Regions from separate parts of the Homo sapiens genome. Here regions 1, 2, 3, 4, 5 and 7 are each linked to region 6. The links are contacts of gene promoters, found by promoter capture Hi-C in blood cells and fetal thymus (Javierre and others, 2016). All regions are on one chromosome and are shown on one strand. Each heading gives the region's core, a stretch centred on a gene start or on the middle of the fragment in contact. The rest is flanking DNA. Distances are from core to core; before and after follow the strand shown.

Region 1 (3,396 bases), core at 186-2,685, 590 kb after region 6:
GTCTCGAACTCCTGGGTTCAAGTGATCCTTCTGCTTCAGCCTCCCTGAGTAGCTGGGGACTATAAATGCAAACCACCACACCTGACCATAAGTGAAAAACTCTTAGGAACCCATATTTTTCCCCTTGAACAATCAGAATTCAATTAATTTAGATACTTACTCTGTTTACTTGATTTTGTAGGGATTGTTAGTTCTTTTGTTTCTTTCATTGATATCTTTTTCCCAGCTATTTCATTATAGATGGCTGATAGATACTCTTCAGGAAGGTCTTTACTGTCATTGATACCTCTATTCATCTTAATGTATTGTTCCTTTGTCATTTTATTTTTCACCTAGATATGAAAAACCATTATAATTCCTAAAAATTAACATAAAGGTTACACTTGTATTTTAAGGATATGAATATTTACATAAGAGATTTTGTAAATACTTTTGAGGATAGAAACTGGAAAGTATTCAACAAAATATAGATAAAAATGAAAAAAATCACAGAAAATGAAGGCAATACAGAAAAGATCCATTCTGGCATAAACTAATTCATGCTCTGAGGTGGACATGAGTAATGTGCAACCAGAAAGGAGGGAAGTTGAACAATGAAAATATTTGTTTTTGCTCAAGGTTTAAGAGCTTTTGCAGTCTCTCAAAAGGGCCATGACAATTATTGGAAATAAAGATATCAAAAACATTCAAATCTTAGTTTAGAAGAACATAAATGTGCTGTTAATGAATTTAAAGCTGACTTTATATACAGTGGGTATAAGAGTAACAATACTTGAGATTTATTTAAAACCAGTTAACAATCTCTCTGACTGAGTCACTGTGGCAACTGAATTATGTCAGGTGATCTGTACAAAGTATCCTTGGAATGTTTTGTCTTGTATAAGAGTACCCTAAACAGAAATGCCTTTTGCACCTTGATAAAGCTGTGGAATACAAGTTTGGAGTCTGTAAGACGGTAACCCCATTACCAAACTTGGGAACTAGCATAGCCAAAATGTTTACACTTTACCTCCAGAAACCTAGATAGATAAAACCCAGAAGTCTTATGTGATGTCTCTGAAGAGACATTTATTTAATTAAATATATTTCTACGTCTTATATGATGTCTCTGAAGAGGTATTTATTTAATTAAATATATTTCTACCACCTTCCATAAAGAACTTAAGGTAACTCTTAAGATATAATTCCTGTAAATTTACATGAAAGTACACAGAAAAACAATCAAGCAAGTCATCAGAAGCTTGCAAAAACTATAGAGAGTGTGGTGTTATGTGCCCGTAGTCCCAACTATTCAGGAGGCTGGGGAAGGAGGATGGCACAAGACCAGGAATTCAAGTCCAGCCTAGGCAACATAGCAAAATCCTGTCTCAAACAAAAACAAAAGTACAGAGGAACCAAAACTTTCAGAAAATGTAACTGGGATATATACACTTATTTACTTCAGATTATTCTGCAAACAGATTTTTCTAACATGTCAGAAAGGGAGGCAGGAGTGCTTTCCCTACAAATATGTAAAAATATTACCATGAAAGTTTTCAAGTGTTTAACGTATCATTTAATGGAATAAAACCCTACTATCTTATAACTTTAAAAACTCAAGTCATGGCACTAAAAAAAAAAAATGAAAGAAAGAAGCTTTTTTACCTAAAGTTCAGGTGAATGCTTAAAAAACACACCAGGAATAACAAAATAAAAGACTACACACTGCTGCCAATAAGAAGTAAAGGAAGATTAAAATCACCTGGAAATTTTAAGCATGGCAAAATGTTTTAGCATTATGCCAATCAGAGGCAGAGAAAAGTCTTGACAGAAAATCTGAAGTAGCAGTTAATTGCCTGTGGATCTGGGTTAGGGATCCCATACGTGGGCGTACAGAATACTTTGCTTTGAGGTCCCCAAAATAAGTGCACTGCTTCACACAGAACACTTCTGCCATAGTGGGATTCTGAAGCTGTATAAAACAAAATCCTACTTTTCTTCTCCTGCCATCTTTTATGGAACATTCTACTCTTGACTTTTATCCTCGTGTGCTTGTATTAAGCTGTGCCTTATTTAGTGTTTAAATCACTTAAAGCCAGTTGTTACTACTGATGATTATTGTATACACAAAAATTGTGTTCTAAATATGCCTAAAATTTTTTTTTAATCACTGACTCACCACACACTACATAAAAAGTAGCCTAACTATAAATATTCTGGGTGAAAAGGGAACATAAACAGCTTGTTAAAATCCACCTATTTTTTAAGTTTGAAAAGAACTAAGAATGAGAATTAGTTTTAAGAAATTCCTTTAAAGTTATTTGTATTTTAAAATGTTGTCATTTGTTATAGTTATCTAAATCAACTGAGGCCAAGATCACGGGTACAATTTTCTAACAGATTACTTAGCTTCATAGAAACTCACAAGCTGTTCTACAGCTGCAGGCTGCATAGCAGCACATGACACCAGGCAGCAAGCTGATAAGGAACAGTTGGACAACAAGCAGTTGCCACCGCTAGACTAGGACTCCAAGCACATGTTCTGCAAACAGGCACTGTTATGCTAAAGACGGGACACTGTTGTGAAGGTAATACTCCCTAACTGGTATGTCCTTAGAAACTTTTCACAGTCTAGGTACTTATGAAAAGACATAAAAGGAATTTTTAATATTTCTTCAAAATAACATGAGTATGTACATATGTATAGGAAGACATTGCACAGGTGCATATAATATTGCTTATTCATTTAGAGAACCAAATGTCTTTTAAAGCATAGCTTTTTAAAACCAAACATATGTAAACCCAGGTCAAAATACTCTAGTGTAGATTGAAAAATCAAATGAAAAAATTAGACTGAAAATTCTGGTGTAAAAATATCTAAACAAATCCCAACTGTGAACTACCTTATAAAGCCGTAGAATAGAAGTCATCATGCTCGATAATAAAAGCCCTGAAGGTGAGCTGCTTTGACTATACTGCCAAAAATATGCCAGAGGCAAATCTTGAATTATTAAATTCTTTAATAAATTTTTAAAGTCCTATATAAAATCAAGTAAATTTGTGGTAAATGCATAGTTGCTCAATATTGTGTTTAAAACAGGAGTAACTTCACATATAATCATATGTATATACATATGTATATAATCGTATATATTCTTACTTTAGGTTTGGTATATACTTTCCTTATCTACTCTGCTTTAAACATCTCAAAACAGACACAAAAAATCCCTATACTGCAAAGGTTAATCTCAAAATTCAAATGAATTTTAATTTTTCCAATACATCTCAGATTAGAAAGTAGGTAATTTATTTTACAACCTAAGCATAACAAATATCATCAGATACCTACCCCTAGAAGTACTAAGAAATCCTTGCAAATAATTTATAAATGTAATTTTACCCAAGGATGTCAATGTG
Region 2 (3,758 bases), core at 57-2,556, 560 kb before region 6:
GTGCACATATGTCTAAGGAATAATTTTTCAAATAAACAATGGCTTTTTTTTTTCACATTTCACGGAGTCTTGACACACCTCCTTGGAGCACTGCTGTTAACAAATTTAAGGGATTTCACCTTTGGATTTAGAGGTGAGAAGAGAATAACCTTTAATAGATGAAACGCTTTTCTACTCCCAGAATGTCCATTTTCTGACCGTACTGGCATCAGAACCTGCCTTTCAACCTCCTTCCTCCCAGAGTAGCAGCTGCCAGCCCAATATCCCTAACCCAAGTGTCCATCTGAGGACAGAGAGACCAAGCAGTGCTACAGAAAGCCCTGGCTGTGATTCAGGAGGCCTAAGATCTCATATGCCACTTCTCCCCTCTGTTACCTTGGATAAGTCATTTCACATATTTGGGCCTCAGTTTCTTCATTCTTAAGCAATTTTTATTACAGAATATCTATAATTAGATGACAATTATGGGACACTCTGACCCATACGTGTTATGTAAAATAACTTACATATGGTTAAACAAAAATGTAATGATGTCAAAAAATGCAGAAACAAAAGCAAATTTCTTCACCATCCCCATATAGTTTGTTAGGGCTATCATAACAAAATATCACAGACTGGGTGGCTTTTAAAAAGATAAATTTGTTTTCTCACACTTCTAGAGGCTAGAAGTCTAAGCTCAAGGTATTGGCAGGTTTGGTTTCTTCTGAGACCTCTCTCCGTGGCTTGTAGATGGCCGTCTTCTCCCTGCGTCTTCCTGTAGCCTTCTCTCTATGCATGCATGTGCCTGCTGTCTCTGTATTCTGTTCTCCTTATAAGGACACCAGTTGTATTGGATCAGGGTGCACCCTAATGACCTCATTTTTGCTTAATTACCTCTTTAAAGGCCTTATCTCCAAATACAGTCACATTCTGAAGTACTAGGGGTTAGGTCTTCAACAAATAAATTGGGGTGGGGAGGGAAGACAGAACACAATTCAGCCCAACAACAAGCATGCCATCAATTTCTCAAAATTGTGCCATATTTCAGTTTGCTTTATATTTGAACCACGTATTTTTTATAAAGTTTTTTTTTGTTTTTTTGTTTTTTTTAGAAATCCCTGAGTATCTTCGTTCTGTCTTTTTGAGAAAAGTGACATGTGCCTTTATCATATCTCTAAGGTCTCCCAGATCCTTAATCACACTACTATTGTAAAAGAATCCGCTTCTTTTTGAAAAATAAACTTCCCAGAGCCCTCTAACTTTTTTTTCCTCCCCTTAATTTGTCCTGATTGCTTTCTTTGCCAGCTGCATCACTGTCAACCTGAGATTTTCTTTTCATTGAGTCCCTGGGTTGGTTTCCTTTTTTCTTAAATCCTGTGTACTCCTCCTTCTTGGATTCTTACTTTGCTTTGCTGAAGTACATCCATGGCATACACAGAGACATGCTGCTAGACTGCCTTTCAAGAAAGAACTCACTGCCCAGCTGCAAGGAGGATGGTTAACTAGTAGCCATCAGGTGTTAACTCCTCTAGCCAAGGTTCTAAGCCTCTGGCCAATGACTGAGCAAGGTGGTGATGCTAGGGCCCCACCATTTCTGCCCAACTTGAGACTCCTCCAAAAGGAAATCTTTGCTCTGGAGCCACCAAGAGGGTTGGCAGAAACTTTGTCGGGTCTGCATCACTGTCTAATGACTACCCCTACCCAATCCTGTGTCCTCCCCTTTTCCATTCACAGATGTTACTCCCCTGTAAAATGTTGTGCTCTAATTCTGCATGAGCTTCAGCTTACTGGAGAACCCATCCAGTACAACATCCTCAAATAATGTTTACTTACTTTTTATTTGTTTCAGAGAGGAATCATAGATTTAAACTTTATGAGACCTTGCAACTATGAACTATTAGTCCTCATATGTGATTGCTACTTTGATTGGCATACAATTCTAGGCTTAAAATTATTTCTTTGCAGAGCTTTGAAGGCCATGCTCAACTGTCTTCTAGCATCCAGTAATGATGATGAGAAGTCTGATCATAATCCAATTCTTATTCCTTTGTAGCTAGCCTAGTTCTTGTTTAGATTTTGCTTTGTTTTCCTCCATCTCTGAAAGTTACAGGGTTTCATCTTTATCCTCAATGCTTTTGAATGTCACTAGGCTGTGTCCAGGCATGGTTATTTTTCATTCATCCTAACTTGCATGATCCTTTCCATCTGATGACCAATGTCTTTCTTTTATTCTTACCCCTGCATTGTCTCTGTTTTCTCTTTCTGGAGCTCATATTAGATACTCTTTATGTCTTCAGGATCTATCTTTTCTTTTTTTTTTCTTTTCTATCTTTTTTTTGGTGTGTGTGTGTGTGTGTGTGTGTGTGTGTGTGTGTGTGTATAACCAGATCTCACTCTGTCCCAGGAGCTGGAGTGCAATGGTGCAATCAATCATAGCCCGCAGCAGCTTTGAACTCCTGGGCTCAAGAGATCCTTCTGCCTCAGCCTCCCAAGTAGCTGGGACTACAGGTAAACACCACCATGTCTAGCTAATTTTCGTATCTTTTGTAGAGATGGGGGTCTTGCTTTGTTGCCCAGGCTGGTCCCAAACTCTTAGCTTCAAGCAATCCTCCCGCCCTGGCCTCCCAAAGTACTGGAATGACAGGGGTGAGCCACTGTACCCAGTGTCATGTTTTTATTTTTTGCTTTCCATGGTCTGATGTCCTGGGATATATTTTCCATTCTATCTTCTATATCTTCATAGCTGATCTTTAGCCATGACCAGTATGTTACTTTTCACCTTAGCAATCATACTTTTAGTATTCAGGAACTCTCTTCTTCCCTAGTTGCTCCTGTTAATATCACTGTATTTTGGTTTTCATTGCTGTAACTCTCTCTTGGATGTCCTTGAGGATATCCCTAACTACTTTTTTGTTAAATAGTTCTGTTCTATTCTTTGCATTATTTGTTTTCTCCTCGGTCATTTATTTAACTTGTTCATCTTGGACTTTCTTTTTGAAGTTGTTGTTATTTCCTCCCAAATGTCTGGTAAACATAACGTGTCCTTCATGATACATTGCTATCTGTAAAAATGGCTGTGTCCTGCGGACTATCAGGCTTTGCATTTATGGTGCATGAGTGGAGAACAGCCATGCTGGCCCAAGATCCTCCAACCTGCCAACTCAAGAAAGAACTCGCTCTGAGAGTTGGGTACGGTGGCCTTCCTGTTCCTTCCATCTCTATTAGGCTCTACTCTGCCCTACTCCCTAGCCCTATACCACTCCACAGGCTCTAGTCTGGCAAATCTACTCTACTTAAGCCATTCTCCAGTGGGATCTCCCTGGCAAAAAATTCAGCAACGGCTGCACAACATTGTGGGCGGCTGACCTCTGTGCTGCTGCCTCTGTGCGTGGAGTCTCTTGTGAGCTCCATGGGGAGAATGGTTTTGTCTCTGCTAGCTTACAGAATGTGCATTTGGAGCTGTGTTTTTCTCCATTATAATCTCATTTGATTTTCACCTTGTAGAAGTTATTTAAAATCTCTATTTGTTACTTATACCTACTGTAGTTTTCCATGTTGCAATAGATTTTTTTTCTTTTGTGTATTTTTATCATCTTTTCAATGTACTCCTGGGGAGGAAGGGGTATAGTCGTATGCGCCCAACCTTCATACATGTAATCCTGATCCCTGGACACAGTGGGTGAGCACCTAAGTGAGGCCAAGAATAATGGAGAGTTTTGCAGTCAGGCCTGAGAAAGAGAAGTGACTCTCTGTGTGATAGACTGTGAAGAATAAAGCTC
Region 3 (3,224 bases), core at 81-2,580, 600 kb before region 6:
TGACTCTAAAAAACAAACAAACAAAAAATCAAAGTGAACTAGTTTTGCACATTAGCACTTGGGTCTCTGTGTCTCATGAATAAGCTTAATTCCTCCTTGTTGACAAGGTACCAAGTATTCTGATTCACATGACAGCAGAAGACTCAGTTGACTGTTCTTTTTCATTTGACTTCACATGGAATTTTCTAGAAATTATCTTCCGGTTCTGCAGAAATGAGTTGCCTCAGAGTAGACCAAAGTGAGGCAAATTCTGTTTTCAAAAGAAGCAGAAAAGAGTGCCATTTCCATAATAATCTGTGGCAACCCCAATCTGTGGTGCTTTTACCCATCTTTATTAGCAATTACAGGTGAAAACAGAGACTGCTTATGAATAAAGTGTAAATGTCAGGGGAATGCATAGTTAATAGAAGAATTGTAAATATTTACAAGGCAGAGTGATGATTCAAGCTCACAAGATTAATTGACATTAATCTCTATCAAGCACTAATTTGCTTCCTGAGTTCTAAAACCTTCCACTGAAAAGAAGAGTATGTGAGGCCATACTCACAGCCCACTTGGAAGAGTTGTCTTCCGGTGGGCTGCATAACCTCCCTTGTCCCTCGTCAAGTCTTTCACTTGATCGAACCTCTTAGTTCTTCATGCAGTGCCAATCTCAGTCATTCCTAGGTGCCAGAATCATTACGATCCGTAACTTTTTCACTCACTCATTCACTCAATATCTATTTAGTATTGGATAATTATTTATATTATACTATGAGAGATGAATATACATATAATATTCATTGTATTCATTAATATGAACCCTATGCTCAAGTTCATCTATCCCACTCACTGTACTCTCCCTTGTTTTGCTTGTCTTTGAGACATATCTTTTCAACCTTATTAAATTTTACTCTATGTAGTAAACTCTTTAAATTTACTGGCTCTGGTTTGCATGGTTGTGCAATCTTCTCCAGCAATGCTGGCCAGCAGAGAAACAGGAGTGGAATTAGTGGGTAGCTAATGTCATCTTCTTGGGGGTGAAACAGGAAATCAGAATGATTAAGAAATTGAGTAAGATGGTTTGAGTAGCATTCAAGTGCATGAACACAAGATTCAGCCTGTATAGTTAAGGAAATTGTCAGTGAGACTGCCAGTCTAGAAAAATAGGTCCTATTAGGTTTAAAAAGTGAGTTTGGGGAAAAATGGGTTTAGGAAGAATAAGAAAGTGAGAGCTTGACGTAAAGATCAGAGGATAATGCTGTTTGTTTTTGCACTGAGAAAACTGAAAGACTAGAGACACTGGGAGCCTGAAAAGAGCTATTGGCAGGGACTGCTTCTGAAAACTACCAGGACCTGCTTGGAGCTTTGTCACTGGAACTTAAGCCAGAAGCCGGCAGGAGGAAGGCCTAGAGAGAGCAAGTGCTTGCTGAGAGCTTTGACTAGAACCAGGGGTGCGAGCTGCTATTGAAAGTAGGAGACAAGATATCAGGCGGAGGAAGTCTATACAGCCATTTCTCCTACACCGCAGTCTTATCCTCCCTTGACCTTCTAGTTCAGTAGAGATTGCTGGCCTGAAGAAAAACCACAAATGTAAATTTTCCCCCAGGAAACATAATAAAGTTAGATGCCCAGAAACTTTTATTGGGAGCTTGGGCCAGATACAGATATTTTGAGCTGTATGCAGCCTACAGATTCTGAGTGAGCTGTGGGCTGGTAGGTTGTTGGAAAAGGATTATATTATACAGTACACAGAAATCTTAGTGGCGTGCTAAAAGCTGTCAGTGACCCACTGGTGTCAGAAGTTCAGGTCCTCATCCCCTAAAGTAGTGCCTTATGATTGGTGTTGGACATGTATTTTATCTACTGTGTTTGCACAAATATCCCAGTTCCTTCTACCTTATTAGAGAGGGTAATGAACTGGCTCTTAATCAGCCATAGGAAAAAACTGTAGTGACCAGAAAGCTACCTTAAAAAAAGATTAAGTATTGTTGTACTTTTAATCCTTACATTTAAAAAATCAAGTATAATTCCTCATAAAGTCAAGTTAATACACATTCTAGTAAAAATGTGGGGAAATACTTTTCAAGCGATGATTGAGACACAGTGGTTTCACCAACTCCACTACCACTAGAGGTCAGCACTTGACTCTCCATATGGTTCTGTACGAGGGAAAAGACCAATTCTCTGAAACAGATCATCATCTACGGTTCGTGTTGTTATCTCATGCCATCTGTCTTGAATCACAAAGGTGACTGCATCCCAGAAAATGAGAGAACACTCAAACAATGGTTGGGGTGAGTTGCTCAGATATTCCATCTGCAAATGTGAGAAAATCATAGGATTGTGTAATGTGGCCTTCAGTGTGTCCTCAGTGGGGCCTTGCTGGTCAAAGTACTTGAATCATGTACTATGGTAGCAGGTGTTTTAGAAATAATTACACAGCAGGGGTAGCACTGGCATCACAATCTGCAATTTGAAACCAAATGGTGCCCCGAGCTTTCTATTCTGTCCCTTATGAAGGACAGAGACTAATCCTGGCCCAGTGGCTCCTGAGTCCCTAAGCCCTGCTAGCATTCTCAGCCACATACTGTACTCAAGCTTCTTGTGGGAGGGCAGTTGTACTAGGTGCAAGTGCATGAAGTGGTTGTAGGGGGCTGTAGGGTTGAAGGATTTAGGGGCTGATCAAGAGAAAAGATATGACCACAAGAGGCAATAACACATCATAAGCTTTGTTGGTGCTTGGGTGCTTCGATATGGCTGTGTGAGAGGGGCCCTCATAGCATAAGACTGCCCAGGGGCTTTCAGTGAAGGGGCACCATCTGGGAGAGGAGGGTGAGGGAACTTCTAAGGAAGAGGGGGTCAAAAGAGGGGCTTACGGGTCTAGTTATGTCATCCAGCAGCATGGCAGGTCTTTTGAGTCAGAGAGCTCCAAAGAACTATAAAAGCTTGAGGTCTTATAACCACAAAGCTCCATCTTATCAAAAGCCAGCAGAAGTGGAGTGAGGTTTTGCAGGGTAGGTAAAGCAGACTGGCTCTACGTGGCTGGAAATCTGATGGTCAGGCTATTTTTTAGATAATTGGATGTGTTAAATAGACATTTCTCAAAAGAACATATACAAATGGCCAACAAACATATTTAAAAATGCTCAACATCACTAATCATCAGGGAAATGCAAACTAAAACCACAATGAGGTATCGCCTTACTCCTGCAAGAATGACCATTATTAAAAAGTCAAAAAAC
Region 4 (3,505 bases), core at 701-3,200, 540 kb before region 6:
GGCCTGCCTCCTGGCACGCGCCCTTAACCTTGACAAAACAAACTTTCTCGATTGAGACCTGTCTCAGGTACTTTTTGGCTTGTACTCTTTATCACATTTTATTTTGTACTATGTTCTGTGTGTGCATGTCTCATCTCCACTCTTATACTGAGCTCCTTGAGGCCAATGACCTATGTCTTGTTCATCTTTCAATACCCAGAGCCTCACACAATGGAGACACACTACACATATCCAATGAATGTATTTTGAAGGAATGAATTCCTTCTAAAAGAAAAGACTCTGCTGCAATGTGCATGATTAGTCTAAGTGCTTTTACTTAGATAGCAAGGTCTTTTGCAGTAGAAACTTAATCTTTCCTAGAAAATATCCCACATATTGTACTCAGACCTCCCCTCCATAGCCCATGAATTGATAAACACAATTAACTGCCTAGGCTGGGTGAACCAAAGTAACTCAGTAAAAAAACTTTACCAGTTCCCGTCCTCCCTGTAGTTGCTAAATAAATATTGAAAGGACTAAGATAATTCTCTAAAGATCCCTGATATGCTTATGAATATATATAACTTATTATTAGTTAATAGAGCTTACTAGATTCTCAATAAGCTCTCCGTGCACACAGCACTAAGACCACACATAACTGACCTACACTTCACTGGTAATTTAATTCACACCAGGGATATGTTAACAAAATGTGTTTATTGCCCAAGGTTTTTAAAATGAAGGAGAAAGAAAGCCGAAATTTATCACATATAAACAGACTTGGATTTCTTTTTTATTTTTGATCTGATTTAAACATTTTTAAATACAATATGTATTGGTTAAACTGTTGCTTCACAAAATCCTGATGAATGTCAGAATCGATGTTTATGACTCAAGAGCAGACCAAGAATATCAGAAATGACCAGAGAAACTATGGTTTAACAAGTCACCTTGGAGGAAGGGGAAATGCAAGGGAGAATAGGTATTTTGGAGGCAGATGAAATGCAGATATGGAAGTAGGACTCCATTTATACTTCAGTTGTCAATGGCACTGGTAACTGTCCCCCAAGGGATGACAAAATAAAATAATAGATCTGCCACCTCCAGGTGCCTGCCAGTTACTACCTCATTACAGATTATTGTTGCAAACTATTATATAATTTAAGAATTTAAATAATCAGTAAAAGACTATCAAATTTTCTTTGTGTTTTTGGGTGTATGTAGGAGGTGGGGCAGTATAGGATGAAAGAGGGCCAAGGAAGAGGAAAGCAATGTGGAAGAGCAAACAGCATACTAGAGTTGTTTTATAATGTAACTTTTTTCTCAAATAATTAGATCATCCACTGGTTTTGAATTTTTATTTATGCATGTATTTATTTATTTATTAGGTGGATACCTTTATGGTGAAGGGATTTGAATTTAGCTTTTAAATTGGAATTTTTCAAAGACCACAACCCCAGCTGACAAAGATGAAATACTTAACATTAAGAAAGTCTTTTTGATGATTGCCTTTGTGAAGCCAGGATAACAATTTTCGAGACATGTTTTGTTCATTTTCACCTAAGAAGGTGCTATTAGGCTACTTTCCGTGACTCAATTCCTACACTCTCAAGACAGGGCTGGCATTAGTTACACAGACTCTGTGCTGCGTTCTGCCCCTTCCTGGAGAAGCCATCGCCAAGTTCTCAGTGAGTGCTCACAGAGGGCATGGTTCAGTGGCTAGGCATGCACATTTGCATTTGTTGTTGACAACTGTCAGCTTCGACCTCCTTCTCCTCACAACCCCGTCTAAATGGGGTTTGTAATCCTCCTTCCCACCCACTCTCTTCACTCCCTGGGGCAAGAATGTTGACTCCTGCTCTCCGTCACCTGTCAGGATCCATCCTCCTGTCACTGGCTTATATGGACACGTCAGCCCACCGTCACGTGACCGCAGGCTGCTAAAAACAGCTCCAGCACCCACTCCAAACCAGGGCCTGAAACAATGTCCTCCACCGAGAGAAACGTAAAGGACACTTGATCACACAATCCCTGGAATAATATCCAGGAAACACTTGCTGGAGCCACTCGCAGCACCCTTCCCTGGCAGCACACTTGGGGACAGCGAGGAGATGAGCGCATCTCTGAATTACAAATCTTTTTCCAAAGAGCAGCAGACCATGGATAACTTAGAGAAGCAACTCATCTGTCCCATCTGCTTAGAGATGTTCACGAAACCTGTGGTGATTCTCCCTTGTCAGCACAACCTGTGTAGGAAATGTGCCAGTGATATTTTCCAGGTAGGTTTGTTTGGAATTTGGTTGAGGGGAGGGGGTGGAAAAGATTCCCTCCTCTTGGAATCAAGTGCTTAACATTGAGGTGAAATCCTTTAAAAAACTTTATAAGGTTGCCGGGCGCTTTGGCTCACGCCTGTAGTCCCAGCACTTTGGGAGGCTGAGGCCAGTGGATCACCTGAGGTCAGGCCTTCGAGACCAGGCTGGCCAACATGGCAAAACCCCATCTCCACTAAAAATACAAAAAAAAAAAAATTAGCTGGGCATGGTGGCGGGCACCTATAATCTCAGGTACTTGGGAGGCTGAGGCAGGAGAATTGCTTGAACCCAGGAGGCGGACATTGCAGCGAGCGGAGATCGTGCCATTGCCCTCCGGCCTGGGCAACAGAGCAAGACTCTGTCTCAAAAAAAGAAAAACAAACAAACAAAAAAACTTTATAAAGTTGCATTTACTTTCAAGAAAAACACGTTTCTTTTAATGATTTGGTTTGTGTCCTCTTTACTCCCAAATCTAGTTTTATTTTAATACTAAGAATCATATTTTTTTTTAAGTCAAACCATTTAATGTGTTTCAAAACTATAAATGAGTAACTGCTGAAGACATGAGTGTGGAGTTTCTGGCTGGAACTTTTGGTTCTGAAAGTGGTGGACGGAAAAGCACCTTACGTGGACAATGGTATATTCGCAGATGACTGTGGATAAGGTCTGACCCTGTGTTTCAGGACCACTTGCTGAGAAAGCCCTGAGGGATGATCTTATGGCAAGCTTAAAGTAGAAGTTCATGTTGTTTGTAGTAGCAGAGAGTGAAAATAAGTCTCAGAGAAGCTGCTTGTGGCATTACCCAATTCCTTTTTTCTTACTTGGCAAGAACAGGCCTCTAACCCGTATTTGCCCACAAGAGGAGGTACCACCATGGCATCAGGGGGCCGATTCCGCTGCCCATCCTGTAGACATGAAGTGGTTTTGGATAGACATGGGGTATATGGACTTCAGAGGAACCTGCTGGTGGAAAATATCATTGACATCTACAAGCAGGAGTCCACCAGGTAACACTCTTCCACTCTTCCATGTGTCAAGCCCATCTGAAACTTGTTTTTGTTTGTTTGTTTTAATGGGTTGCTACGCTGAATGCTTGTTTATCAATCACAGACTGTTTTATGGAAAAATGGTTTTCCAAGTCAGTCCTTCCCAGTGAGACTGAGAGTTGCTCACAGCAGGAGAGAGGGGAGTTGGTGCCCATGCTTTTGTATCAA
Region 5 (3,680 bases), core at 1,085-3,584, 640 kb before region 6:
ATAATTTTCTCATCCAGAAAATTATACTGAAAATAATACTTTGTTTATCTCACCAAGTTGTGAAGATTAAATAGAGTGATATGTGTGAAAATAGCTTGTAAATGAAGCATGATGTAAAATGTTATTGGTATTATGAAAGCCCAATATATGTTCTCCTCTTGAGAGATTCTTAAAGCACAATTCTCTGACTTCACAGATACGTCGTCTGATGCAATACAGATACTTTTTAGTATCATATGGGGTTAGCGTCTAGAAAAAGTGAAGGGTATGAAATAATGAAGAATGAAATTCCAGTGAGACTCTATTTCTTTACAGATTGCTCCTCCCTGTCCCTTACTCAACACTAGAACCTGGTATAGCGCTGTAATCAATACTCTGTGTGTGTGTGTGTGTGTGTGTGTGTGTGTGTGTGTGTGTGTGTGTGTGTGTGTGTGTTTTAGACAAGGTTTCATTCTGCCGTCCAGGCTGGAGTGCAGTGGTGCAATCTCAACTCATTGCAGCTTCGATATCTTGGGTTTAAGCGATCATCCCCTGTCAGCCTCCTGAGTAGTTAGAACTACAGGCACGCACAACTACGCCCAGCTAATTTTTGTATTTTTTGTAGAGATAGGGTCTCACTATATAGCTCGGGCTGGTCTCAAACTCCTGGGCTCAAGTGATCCTCCCACCTCAGCCTCCCAAAGTGCTGGGATTACAGGCATGAGCCATCTCGCCCTGCCAACACTAACTCTGGACTTTCATTTGAGCTTTGCTGCTTATCATCAAATCTCAATGAAAACATTAGTTGCTCAGAAGTCACCTTACTTGTTAATCTAGAAATGGTCTGGTGGCTCAGGATTTCTGAGTCTGGGCTGGGACCAGAGCCAGCTACTCCTGGCACCTGTGTTGCTGGGGAAACATGATCTTCACTGAGACTCTGTTCTCTTCCCATAATGTACATTATCCAAATGGTCTCTTGTTGTGGGTGGATTCGGGTAAAAATTGTCTTCACCACGTGGGGCCTCAGTTTCCTCATCTGCAAAAAAAAAGGAGTTAGATGAGAATCTGGTCACTAGCCGGTCTTCTAGGTCTCTCCCCACAGTTAAGATCCCATAATTCTGCAGGTCAGTTTATGACCTGCAAAGGGATTCTTCCCTGAGGGCCCTCACAAGGTTTTGAATGGCAGAGCAAATGGAAATGGGGGAATGTCCTTCCCAACCTCCCACCATGGGCAGGAGAGGAAGTGTTGTCCAAGAGGGCCTCAGCTGGACCATCTGGAGGAGTGAGGATTCCACTCTGTGACATCACAATATCCAGCCCAGGTTTGACCTTGACAACTGGGAAGGAGAAATAACAGGAGGCGCAGTTACTGATATAGCCAAGGTGGGACACTACTGGAGGGAGCTAGAAGGGATCAGCCAGCCATGCCTCCAGTTCAGGTACTTGGCATTGCTAAGCTCAGAACAGGACTTGCCAGTGTCTAGATGAAAAAGAGGAGAGATCTCAAGGTGAGTGTGTCTCCAAGCTTAAGAAGAATAGTATAAGCACAGACGGCTTGTGCCCCAGCTGCGTTAGGGTAATGTAAGGTTCCACACGAGCAGAAGCAGAGCTGGGCGCATCTTGCCAACAGCCAGGCTGCTTGCCATGAAGCCGGACGGTGAGGACATTTCCGAGGCTGTAGTCCACTTGTGCTGCTGGTGATATATTTCTATTTAGAGGTTTTTTTCTTTCAATAGCTCCTCCCCGGATGACAGGGTAGAGTAAACAAAAATAAGTTAACTAAGGAAGTATTTTAATAGAAGCCAGTACAAAAACAAACAAAAGTAATAAAAGGTGCAAAGTTGTATTATGGGTTAGCAAGCAAGACTGACTCTAAGGTCAAGTTTTGAAAGTTCAAATCTTGAAAGGCAAAAGGATACCCCTATAAAGAGTAAAAGAGAAGGGCCTTTTGGTTGAGAAGTAAGTAAAACAGCTCTGCTGGAACATATACCGGACCCCCCACCCCGCCCCCAGCAACTCCTGCCAGTGAAATCATTGCTGGGGATGCGGACAGTTCTGTTTTCTTTACCTTGCCTTGGGGTTTTGGCTTCTACAATACTTGTTTCTTCCTGGAGTCTTGGGGCCCTGAGAGGCTCTGAGTGACGGCAAAGAACTGTTCTGTTTACCAGTGGGGCGGAGCATGGGGCCAGCGCCAGGCCCTGACTCATCCCCATGTGGACTCCCTTGGGTCTTAGCACACTGCGACCCCGGAGTTGGAGCACAGGACAGCTCAGGCAGGCACGCTGAGCTCTGCCTGCAAGGTCAGAGTTGATGGCGATGCTCCCTCAGTGGGAGTAAGAGTCCATGTTCTGACAGGTAGGTCAGTTACCCACAGGGGACCCCAACAGCCATCGACAAGAAGAGGAGGAGATGGATTCTCTATCCACAGGACACAACTCTAACTCTCCTTGGCCTCCAACACATCACGAATAAATATATCACAGCAGTAAGGTCAATACTCTCACACTCTATGAAAGTAGTAATAGTCCCCAAAGCATGTAAAACTGAGAGATCCAGATAAAAGCAAAATATACTTGCACATAAACTTCATAGCACACATTCAACTTCTGTACAGAAGTCACTGTGATTTTCACAATTAGGTTATGATCTAATCATAACCACTTAAGACTTGAACATTAAAATCTCATTGGCCCAGTTTTTAGGCTTCCTTCATTGATAGCCATTGAAAACTAAGTTTAAGCTGAACCTCAGATAATACCCACAAAACACAGAATGTCCTAACTCATCTCCATTTGCATTTGTTGACTGTAACGTTCCCTGATCCTTGTGTTAGTCACATGCTGCTGCAGCCTGTCGCATACTGCAGAATTTTAGAGTCGGAGGGGAACTAGAAGATCATCCATTCCACAGCTTCGTTTCCAGGAGAAACCACACAGAGAAGTGTCTCAGCTAAGGGTATCAAGCTAGTTAGTGCTGGGGACTAAAGTTTAAGCCCCCTCACTCTTAGCCTGGTGGCCTCTCCAATACACTCTGCCCCACAATGAATGAATGTATTGGTTCATATTTGAACTAACTCTTTGATTTTCTAAGTTAGAATATTCTAAAAGGAGGAAATCTCATTTATCACCTTGGTGTGGTTATTGGTAAAAGCAGATATTCTCCTAGCCTCTGCACCTCCATACAAGATAAGCTTTGGTCAATGACAAGAAAAAGCACTGAAGACCCCATTCAAAACACTGAGATAACAGTGAAAATAAAACCAGGGAAATTGACTAGCTACTGTAAATTGAGGGCTGATTAGAAGTAATCCTTTTTTTCTTAAAAAAACATGTATACAATTTACCAGATTTTTACTTTATAATAAATATACGGTCTTCCTGTGGCCTTGTCTTTTCCTGTTTAGGTAGATAATACTTTGTTTATGAATGTGTGTGTGTATACCCTTGAATGTACAGATGAGTAAACACTTTATCTGGCAGGTGTGGGGCTGGCTATTACATCCATCCGTGGTATCCGACCTACACTTACTTACCTAATATATCTTCTATATGAGCCTTCTGTGACTTATCCCATGAATTAATATTCTATTTGGAATTAACATGATAGTGTAGGAGGAGCCTCCTTAGACTTGTCCAGGGTTTGACATACATGAAGCTATATATGTCTTGCATCCGTAATTAATCTGCAAGTTTGAGCCCAGG
Region 6 (3,747 bases), core at 270-2,769:
GCAGCAACAAGCCTAAGTAAGTATTTATCTTGCAAACTTCTGTCACCTCCAATAACACAACCACCATCCTCTTCAAGTTTTATGTACTTTTTAATAAGGTCCTGAGGCACACCCCATGCTTTAGGAAGCAAATTCATAGGCAGTTTGGGCAAAGCAGCCCCTTTTATGCCTACCAAGGGGATATAATGGTTTCTACCGGAGCTGCTCCATGCAATACAGATTGGTTTGTTCAAATGACCATCTTTCCCAGTGCACTTCTCTGCAGGGATGAGCCCAGGTAGAAAGGTGGCTGAATAATCACCAGAGCTTCTCATGCCACTGAGGGAATCTAACAGAATAATAGGACGATGTAGCACATTGGCAAGACCAAATATGTGGATATTCCTCAGGCCCAAGGGAACACCCTCAGGTGGTACAAACAGAGGGTCACACTCATTGATAATGTCCTCCCACTCAGCAGCATCAATGAAGTCATGGAACAGAGCTTGATATCGGGCCAGGTGCTGCTGAAAGTGCTGTTTAAGATTCTCTCTTAAGGCATGCCAGAAGAGCTCTCGGCCTACTAGAGCCCGAGACACAGCATGCACCAAGCAGTGTCCATCCCCGTCCACATGCACTGGAATGAGACATTCCTGGCTTTTATTGGCCCGCTTAATGTCCTCCAGAGTGTCATGCAAATACAGGAGGCTTCCGGAGCGGTCCTTGCCATAGCCCACAGTGTTAACATGCTCTGGTTCTATGAGGAAGGCGCGGTCACCCAGTAAGGCGCAATCGAACAGTTCGCCCTGGTTCATGTCCCGGAGAAGCTTGGCCCGGCCTGTCTGTTTGTCCATTCCATAGCGAGCTAATATGGGCGACAACAATTTGCAGTGATAGTTGGAAAGGCCCATCACCTTTACCAGTTCCGTGTTCTTCTTGGGTGCCCCCGTAACCCCGAGCAGCGCGTTCCGCAGCAGGTTGTGTAGCACTACGTCCGGGTCGGTCACCTCCTCAACCCCCAGCAGCTGTTGCTGCTCGTGCCGCTGGCCGCACTCGGTACACTCGATGCTGACAGAACCGGAGGCCGGGAAAAATAGACGCGCCTGACACTTCGGATCCGGGCAGCTCCCGGAAAGGATTCTCCGGTCTCTCCGCTTCAAAAGCCCCCCCGAAGCAGCCGCCGACGCCAAGGACGACGGAGTCTGTGGAGCCTCAGGGGGAGGAGGTGGCGGCGGCAACGGAGGCGGCGGCGGCGGCGGCTGAGACATAGCTCCTGGCTCTCGTGTCTCGCTCCGCGTCCCAGGCGACCCTCAAAAGCTCATAGCCCAGACCCCCACCAACCCGACTCGGTCCAGTCCAGGCCCAGGGCGAAGCACTTTCCTTTCCCTACCAGCTCTTCCTCCTCCTAAGCGAAGGCGGAAGCGCCGGACGTTGTTTCTCTTCTTACTTCTCCACTGCCGTAGCCGTTGCCCCGAACGTAACGGCCACCACCCCACCCCGCACTCACACTCACTCACTCTCGCTCTCTCTCCCTCAGACACAGACATACACGCCCTCATTGAGTGTGCGCAGGCGCAGCTTCCGCTCTGCCCTCTGGGAATTAGAGTCTTCCAGCCTCTGTGCTGGCCATCAAGCCCTAGGATCTTGAGTCCAGAAGGAACTACAAGTACCGTGAGGCCAAGCGGTTCAGCGCTAGAGGAGAGGAGGAAGAGGACGGCAACAGGAAAAGGGGCGAAAGAAAGATGGTGACTCGCGTTGCCTGCCGGTAGTTGTAGTTTTACTGGGCTCTCCTTCGTCGTCTTCCCCACTCTGCAGCCCAAGGCAAAGAGTCTGAGAGACCACATTTCCTAGGATGCCGTGCGGTGCGTCTAGCTGCACTTCCTCCTTAGGCGGAGGGGAGGATTCAGGGAAGCTTGGTTAAAAACAGTTATGGCAGTGGGAGTCGAAGCGAGGGTCTGAAGTTCACGACTACTAGAAGGGGAGGGGAGTGGAAAGGCTCTCAGTGAAAAAGGTACAGTAAATAAATGTCCAGGGATATTGGGGGCTGGGAAGTTGAATAAATGGTCTAATCTAGGCTGGAGGCCATAAGGGGGAAAACAGTTGATTCTCGGAAGCTCTGCCTTCTCCCCCTCTCTAGTGCGAATCACTGAGGCGCCATTTGATTTCTCGTTTCCTGCATGTTTTGGCAGTTTACAGTGCAAATAACGGTACCTTGGATGTCTGTAGAGTTTTGTGTGCATATACAAATTCTCTTAACTAGGTTTAATTTCATTTGCTCTTTACCACCCTACTCCCCAGAGAATAATAAGAGCCATCATGTGTTAAGTTCTTAATATGTGTCTGGACAGCATTTGCATAACACGATATCATTTGATCTTAAAAAATAACCTTCTTAGGAAACAGGCCCAGAAAGGAAATGACTTGCTAAAGTTCACGCAGCTGATAAGTGAGTGGATAGACATTCAGATCTCAACCTGTCTTCTTTTTACAGATCAGGACATAGGCAGGAAAGGTTAGGCCTGTATTACATAGAATAGTAACTAGCATTTGCTTACTATTGCCTTATAGTTTACATATTTAATAATATGTTCACATGTATCATCTCATCCTCACACCAGTCCTGTAATACCTTTACCAGGTGGTGTTGACTTCATTTACAATCAGGGAAACTGAGACTAAAAGGAATTAAGTGACTTGCCCAAGGTCAAGTCACCAGTTATGCTGGATCCCAATCTCAAACCTTGAGAGTGATTTTTACGCTGCTGCTTACCAAAAAATCCCGGCCGGGCGCGGTGGCTCACGCCTGTAGTCCCAGCACTTTGGGACGCTGAGGCGGATGCATCACGAAGTCAGGAGATCGAGACCATCCTGGCTAACATGGTGAAACCCCGTCTCTACTAAAAATACAAAAAAATTAGCCGGGCGTAGTGGCGGGCGCCTGTAGTCCCAGCTACTTGGGAGGCCGAGGCAGGAGAATGGCGTGAACCCGGGAGGCGGAGCTTGCAGTGAGCCGAGATCACGCCACTGCACTCCAGCCTGGGCGACAGAGCAAGACTCCGTCTCAAAAAAAAAAAAAAAACCCAAAATGTTAGGCTCAAATCTTTTGCTAGGCCTTAGAGTCTCCTCTTAGTGATGAAGGGATGTTTAATGTTAAGGAGGCAACAGCTTTATTCTTTTTTCACTTGGGTAGGAAACTGCCTCTTCATACAGAACAATATTCATATGTTAATTGAAAGCTAGTATTATTTTTGTACATTCATCCTCTTTCACTTATTACGGAAATTCTTGCTTTCTGGAAGTTTAGTATCACCTTAGGTAAGTGGACTACCTCAAAATTTCTGAAACATTTGGCACCAACTAGAAACATTAGTGAAGTCCATGAGATCATTTGAGTCTTCTGTAGCTGCCCAGGAAACCGCCTGATTAGGTTGTGTGTGTGTGTGTGTGTGTGTGTGTGTGTGTGTGTGTATGTATGTATGTAGAACTTGATGCTTTGAAATGAACCATCTGCAAAATAGAGGCCCATAAAGGGTATTAGTTTTGATGTGCACCTAATTGCTACAATTTTCTTGAAAATAAATATTTGAAAGAGAAATCCTCCATAATGGACCTTAATTACAAGAGAAGTGATTTTTCCTATCTTGGGATATTTTTCTTTCTTTTTTTTTTTTTTTTTTTGAGACAGAGTTTCACTCTTGTTGCCCAGGCTGGAGTGCAATGGCGTCATCTTGGCTCACCCCAACCTCCGCCTCCCAGGTTCAAACCATT
Region 7 (3,566 bases), core at 294-2,793, 620 kb before region 6:
TAGGTGAAGCTTCTTTTGCTTCGAAATGAAGATTTCATTTCAACACGAAAGATTTAGAACCACACCCGTAGGACCCCTGGAATTAGAATCTTTAAAATTTTTGTTAACTTTGAGTCAGTGCCTATTGTCATTGGGGGGTTGTACCTTCTTTCAGTTACATCCATTATCAAGAGGCACCTGAGCAGTACCTGGTTTGGTAGTCACTCTATAGAGGTCAATGGTTTTTGTAATATTAATGGCTTTGTCGTGCAGCTAGAAAGTAATTTTAAGTTCAGAAGATTAAGTATCATGTACTAGATGTTCAAAATTAAATCACTTAATGACTTTTCTCGACAAGATTTTTCTCCCCATTGGATGCCTGATAGATGAGGGACTATGAATAAATAATAAAGACTTGAAATTTGCATAGGAATATTATAATTCAAAAGGTTACAGAAAAAAGAGTTTTAAAAGTTGTATTTTATATAAGGAATTTTAAAAGGTTATGGGCCCACTATTTAAGGTTATTTAAGGAAGAGATTTTATGTTATTATGTTCTCAGGACATAACATCTTTACAGTCATTAAAGGTTTCAATGTATTACTCTATTGAATCTGAAACTAAATATCATAGAAATCAATAATATATGAAGAATCTGGTTTCTAGCTTAACAAGGAGGCAGAAAAAGTAGTGTGTTGTTGCTGCTTGAGGCACAAAGCAGCTTTCTGGTCTTTTGGTTCCTTCATGTTTCAGTGTGTAGAGTCAGCCAACTACTTCCCACATTGACCAACTATCTTTTGCTTGCATTTTAACATGATGCAAATGGACTTTTTAAAAAAGTTTCTTCATTAAAAGATGTTGTCTGTCTGAAAGGAAATATTTGGGAATAGGGCAAAAGAAGATGAAACAGACAATAAACACTCTATACTACCCATTCTGAATATTGATCAATGCATATTATCAAACAAGTTGGCTACTGGAATTTCATTTAGTGGGAATAGATTATAATGTGATTCAATTTTTAAATGAAGTGATGATTGGAAAAAACATTATAAACCAAAGAATTAGCTAGCTACTGTGTCTTCCCGGGTGTGAGTTTTTATCTATGAAACTCTTCGAGAAATGGAATCTGCCTTTTTTTTTCATACTAGAAAAGGGAGGGTAGAGAAGCAAAGGCCTGGGGCAGAGAAAGACAGGCTCCAGGCTGTTTCCAGGACTGTTCTCTGGAAGGGGCTGGGAGCAGCCCCTGCCTGAGCCCATTTCTCTTTTTCCACACCTGGGATAATTTTGAAGGAGGGAGCCTTGGAGAAAACCATCCTCAAAGGGCACCAGAGGGCTCTGCAGGCTCCCCAGGGCTGCTTTCCTCACACAGGAAAAGATACTGGACAGGATTCAGGCACCCTCAACTCCAGAAACCTCGGAGTCTTCCTTTGTGAAAAGCATGAATGCTAACGTTAGGCTGCTTTGCTCACAGACATTGGTGTACCCAGTAAAAGTGCTGCCCAACGCCAAACCTAACATGCCCCCATCCTGTCACCACCCAGTCAGCAGGGAAAATAAGAACCAGGAGTTTGGGAATGGAGAGGTGGTAGGAGCATGTTTAACAAGACTAGAAACGCTCAGGGCTATGGCTCATGTGGTTCCTGTAGCCCTGAGCCACAGGGCTTCCTGGAAATCCTCAGGAGGTTTTGACCCAGAGACCAGGAATCTTCTTTCCTGTGTGGCTTACAAACTGGGCTCCCTGCAGAAGTTCTGAAATTCTTGCATAACCCACACATTCCTCTACTTCCAGGTAACTCTACTTTCCTAACTAACCCCTTCAGGAGCTCCCTCTTAGTCCACGTGCAGGCTCAGTGGCTGCGCAGAGGGAAAACACTTGCCACCATAGCCCTTAGATCCCACTGCGCCTTCCTGTGGCCCCTCACCGTGGACAGAGCTGCAGGGCCCCTCACGTCCTGCAGCTGGACACAGTGCAAGGCTGCTTCAGTTCAGTGTCACCACTATTCAGAGTTCTTGTGAGGATTAGATGAGATACTAGTTGGGGGAAATTGTAAATTGTAAAGTATCTTAGAAATGTCAAGTGTTATTCAATATGACACTCCAGTAAGAACATGGGCTTTAGAACCAGATAGCTCTAAATTCAAAACTTGCCTGTGTGAACCTGGGCAAGTTGCTTTACTTCAGGGAGACTCACTTCTCTCATCCATAAAATGAGATTGCAAAGGAGAGAGGTATATGCCCGCTGCCCCTCGGGGGCTACAGGCTGCTTGTCTTCTAAAGACTTCATATGACAGTATTCATCACCATATCATGAACTTACCGTGGTCAAAACAGTGAAAGGCTGTCCAGTTCTCAGCCTTGGAAGCTCAACCAGCTGAGATGGCGGCAGCCAGAGAGCAGGGCCTTGCTGAAGGCCACACTCCCTGCAGCCACGTTCTCCGGATGGTGCACAAACTTTGGATGTCCATTATTTTATGAAGGGAAATAGCTATCCTTGGATGAAGACCACTTGTGTCAACATGACCCATTCATGCCCTCCTTGTGGGTGGATCTCAGGGCAAGACAAATCATCAACAGATTCCAATTTATTCATTTACCAGGAGATAGAATTGTCCCTGAGACCAGTGAAAAGAACTGAATCCATGTGACCAGTGCATTCTCTTCCTTGAGGAAGACTTATGTAGGACGCCAGATAATAACCAAAAGGAGACTTGACAGCATGGAGTTAGATTAGTCGAATTTTAACAATGAGGGCCAAAATTGCTGGATGGGCTTCTCTCAAGAGCAACCGTTTGGCCAATGGGGCCTGAGTCCTTTTCCTCCTTCCTTGCAATAGTGCTTGGATGGCCCAGCCAGCATTGGCCTCCGCATTTGTTTTTCTCTGCCTGCCCATGTCTGCTCATCCTCCTGAATAACCGACACAAGAAGAACCTGACACTGTCAGTTACGATTATGCAGTTAATCAGGTTCTATCAGGTCTTGCAGGCCCAGGAGCCATTTATCTCTTTAAGATGATTTTATAAGATAGCTTCTTCCTGATCCAGCATGCACTGATCTCCCATTTTAACTCTCAGAAAACCGTTTTATTTATCTTACTCCTAAGCTTTTGGGGGTCCCTCTCTGATGTCCCTAAGTACCGATAACAGGATTAAATGACACCATATACGAAAGTTGTCATTCTGGTGCATAGGAGGGGCTCAGTAAAGCCTAATTCCCTGTTCTCCTTCCCTTTCATGCAATATGACAGCTCTTAAGACTTTTATGGAACATAGCCCTGTGCTATGTCAGTTGTATTTCAAAGATTAATATAAAATAGGATTCCAGCCCCTGAGGAGCTCAGAGTATGGTGGTGCAGGGACATTTAAGTGAATAATGTTTTGTTGAGCATAAAAACCCTGTTGTTGCCAGGCCCACTGGCTGTGGGAGTAAATGTAGCCTTCCTGGTATTCATGTATTCATTTTGCTATGCTGCTAGACCTCACCTGTACAAATACAGGGCCCCGCCTCCTGCAGAATCCTCCCAAAGATGTGCCAGTGCTCAGGGAGAGTTGCAGAGAAGAGCTTTAGTGTCCACCCTTTATCACCAT

What was found. Contacts are between HindIII fragments. The CHiCAGO score rates a contact against its expected background, and 5 or more counts as called.
Region 1: a fragment that was not itself captured here is called in contact with the fragment with the promoter of VCPIP1 in region 6 in 1 of 17 cell types (erythroblasts); the score reaches 7.0 in erythroblasts.
Region 2: a fragment that was not itself captured here is called in contact with the fragment with the promoter of VCPIP1 in region 6 in 9 of 17 cell types (fetal thymus, erythroblasts, naive CD4 T cells and 6 more); the score reaches 6.6 in fetal thymus.
Region 3: a contact is called between a fragment that was not itself captured here and the fragment with the promoter of VCPIP1 in region 6, in 1 of 17 cell types (M2 macrophages). The highest score is 5.0, in M2 macrophages.
Region 4: the fragment with the promoter of TRIM55 here is called in contact with the fragment with the promoter of VCPIP1 in region 6 in 3 of 17 cell types (M0 macrophages, M1 macrophages and M2 macrophages); the score reaches 8.2 in M0 macrophages.
Region 5: a fragment that was not itself captured here is called in contact with the fragment with the promoter of VCPIP1 in region 6 in 2 of 17 cell types (M0 macrophages and M1 macrophages); the score reaches 5.9 in M0 macrophages.
Region 7: a contact is called between a fragment that was not itself captured here and the fragment with the promoter of VCPIP1 in region 6, in 1 of 17 cell types (M2 macrophages). The highest score is 5.3, in M2 macrophages.

The regions. Positions count from the first base shown.
Region 1 is chr8:67,253,291-67,256,686 of GRCh38, forward strand. It overlaps ARFGEF1 (ARF guanine nucleotide exchange factor 1), which reads right to left. Exons shown (of 39, transcript NM_006421.5): 18 at 161-332. Among named protein-coding and RNA genes, the nearest start is that of ARFGEF1, 89 kb to the right of the region's middle. The HindIII fragment of the contact is 395 bases long and covers 1,239-1,633 here.
Region 2 is chr8:66,107,606-66,111,363 of GRCh38, forward strand. No RefSeq gene overlaps it. Among named protein-coding and RNA genes, the nearest start is that of TRY-GTA5-1, 3.9 kb to the right of the region's middle. The HindIII fragment of the contact is 6,679 bases long and covers 1-3,758 here.
Region 3 is chr8:66,063,004-66,066,227 of GRCh38, forward strand. The region is part of intron 3 of DNAJC5B (DnaJ heat shock protein family (Hsp40) member C5 beta); the gene reads left to right. Among named protein-coding and RNA genes, the nearest start is that of DNAJC5B, 43 kb to the left of the region's middle. RefSeq lists a silencer at 1,211-1,505. The HindIII fragment of the contact is 2,496 bases long and covers 83-2,578 here.
Region 4 is chr8:66,125,179-66,128,683 of GRCh38, forward strand. TRIM55 (tripartite motif containing 55) reads left to right here and starts at 1,951. Exons shown (of 10, transcript NM_184085.2): 1 at 1,951-2,258; 2 at 3,126-3,298. The coding sequence starts at 2,091. RefSeq lists a silencer at 1,497-1,769. The HindIII fragment of the contact is 5,122 bases long and covers 1-3,015 here.
Region 5 is chr8:66,020,219-66,023,898 of GRCh38, forward strand. DNAJC5B (DnaJ heat shock protein family (Hsp40) member C5 beta) reads left to right here and starts at 1,335. Exons shown (of 6, transcript NM_033105.6): 1 at 1,335-1,487. It overlaps LOC105375883 (a long non-coding RNA gene), which reads right to left and starts at 1,263. Exons shown (of 7, transcript XR_929008.3): 1 at 1,206-1,263; 2 at 805-1,015. The HindIII fragment of the contact is 1,665 bases long and covers 1,503-3,167 here.
Region 6 is chr8:66,665,712-66,669,458 of GRCh38, forward strand. VCPIP1 (valosin containing protein interacting protein 1) reads right to left here and starts at 1,520. Exons shown (of 3, transcript NM_025054.5): 1 at 1-1,520. The coding sequence starts at 1,247. C8orf44-SGK3 (C8orf44-SGK3 readthrough) reads left to right here and starts at 1,885. Exons shown (of 19, transcript NM_001204173.2): 1 at 1,885-1,990. It overlaps C8orf44 (chromosome 8 putative open reading frame 44), which reads left to right and starts at 1,885. Exons shown (of 2, transcript NR_161217.1): 1 at 1,885-1,990. RefSeq lists enhancers at 408-467, 718-1,237, 1,608-2,117. The HindIII fragment of the contact is 1,085 bases long and covers 805-1,889 here.
Region 7 is chr8:66,044,457-66,048,022 of GRCh38, forward strand. All of the region lies in intron 2 of DNAJC5B (DnaJ heat shock protein family (Hsp40) member C5 beta), which reads left to right. Among named protein-coding and RNA genes, the nearest start is that of DNAJC5B, 25 kb to the left of the region's middle. The HindIII fragment of the contact is 3,073 bases long and covers 8-3,080 here.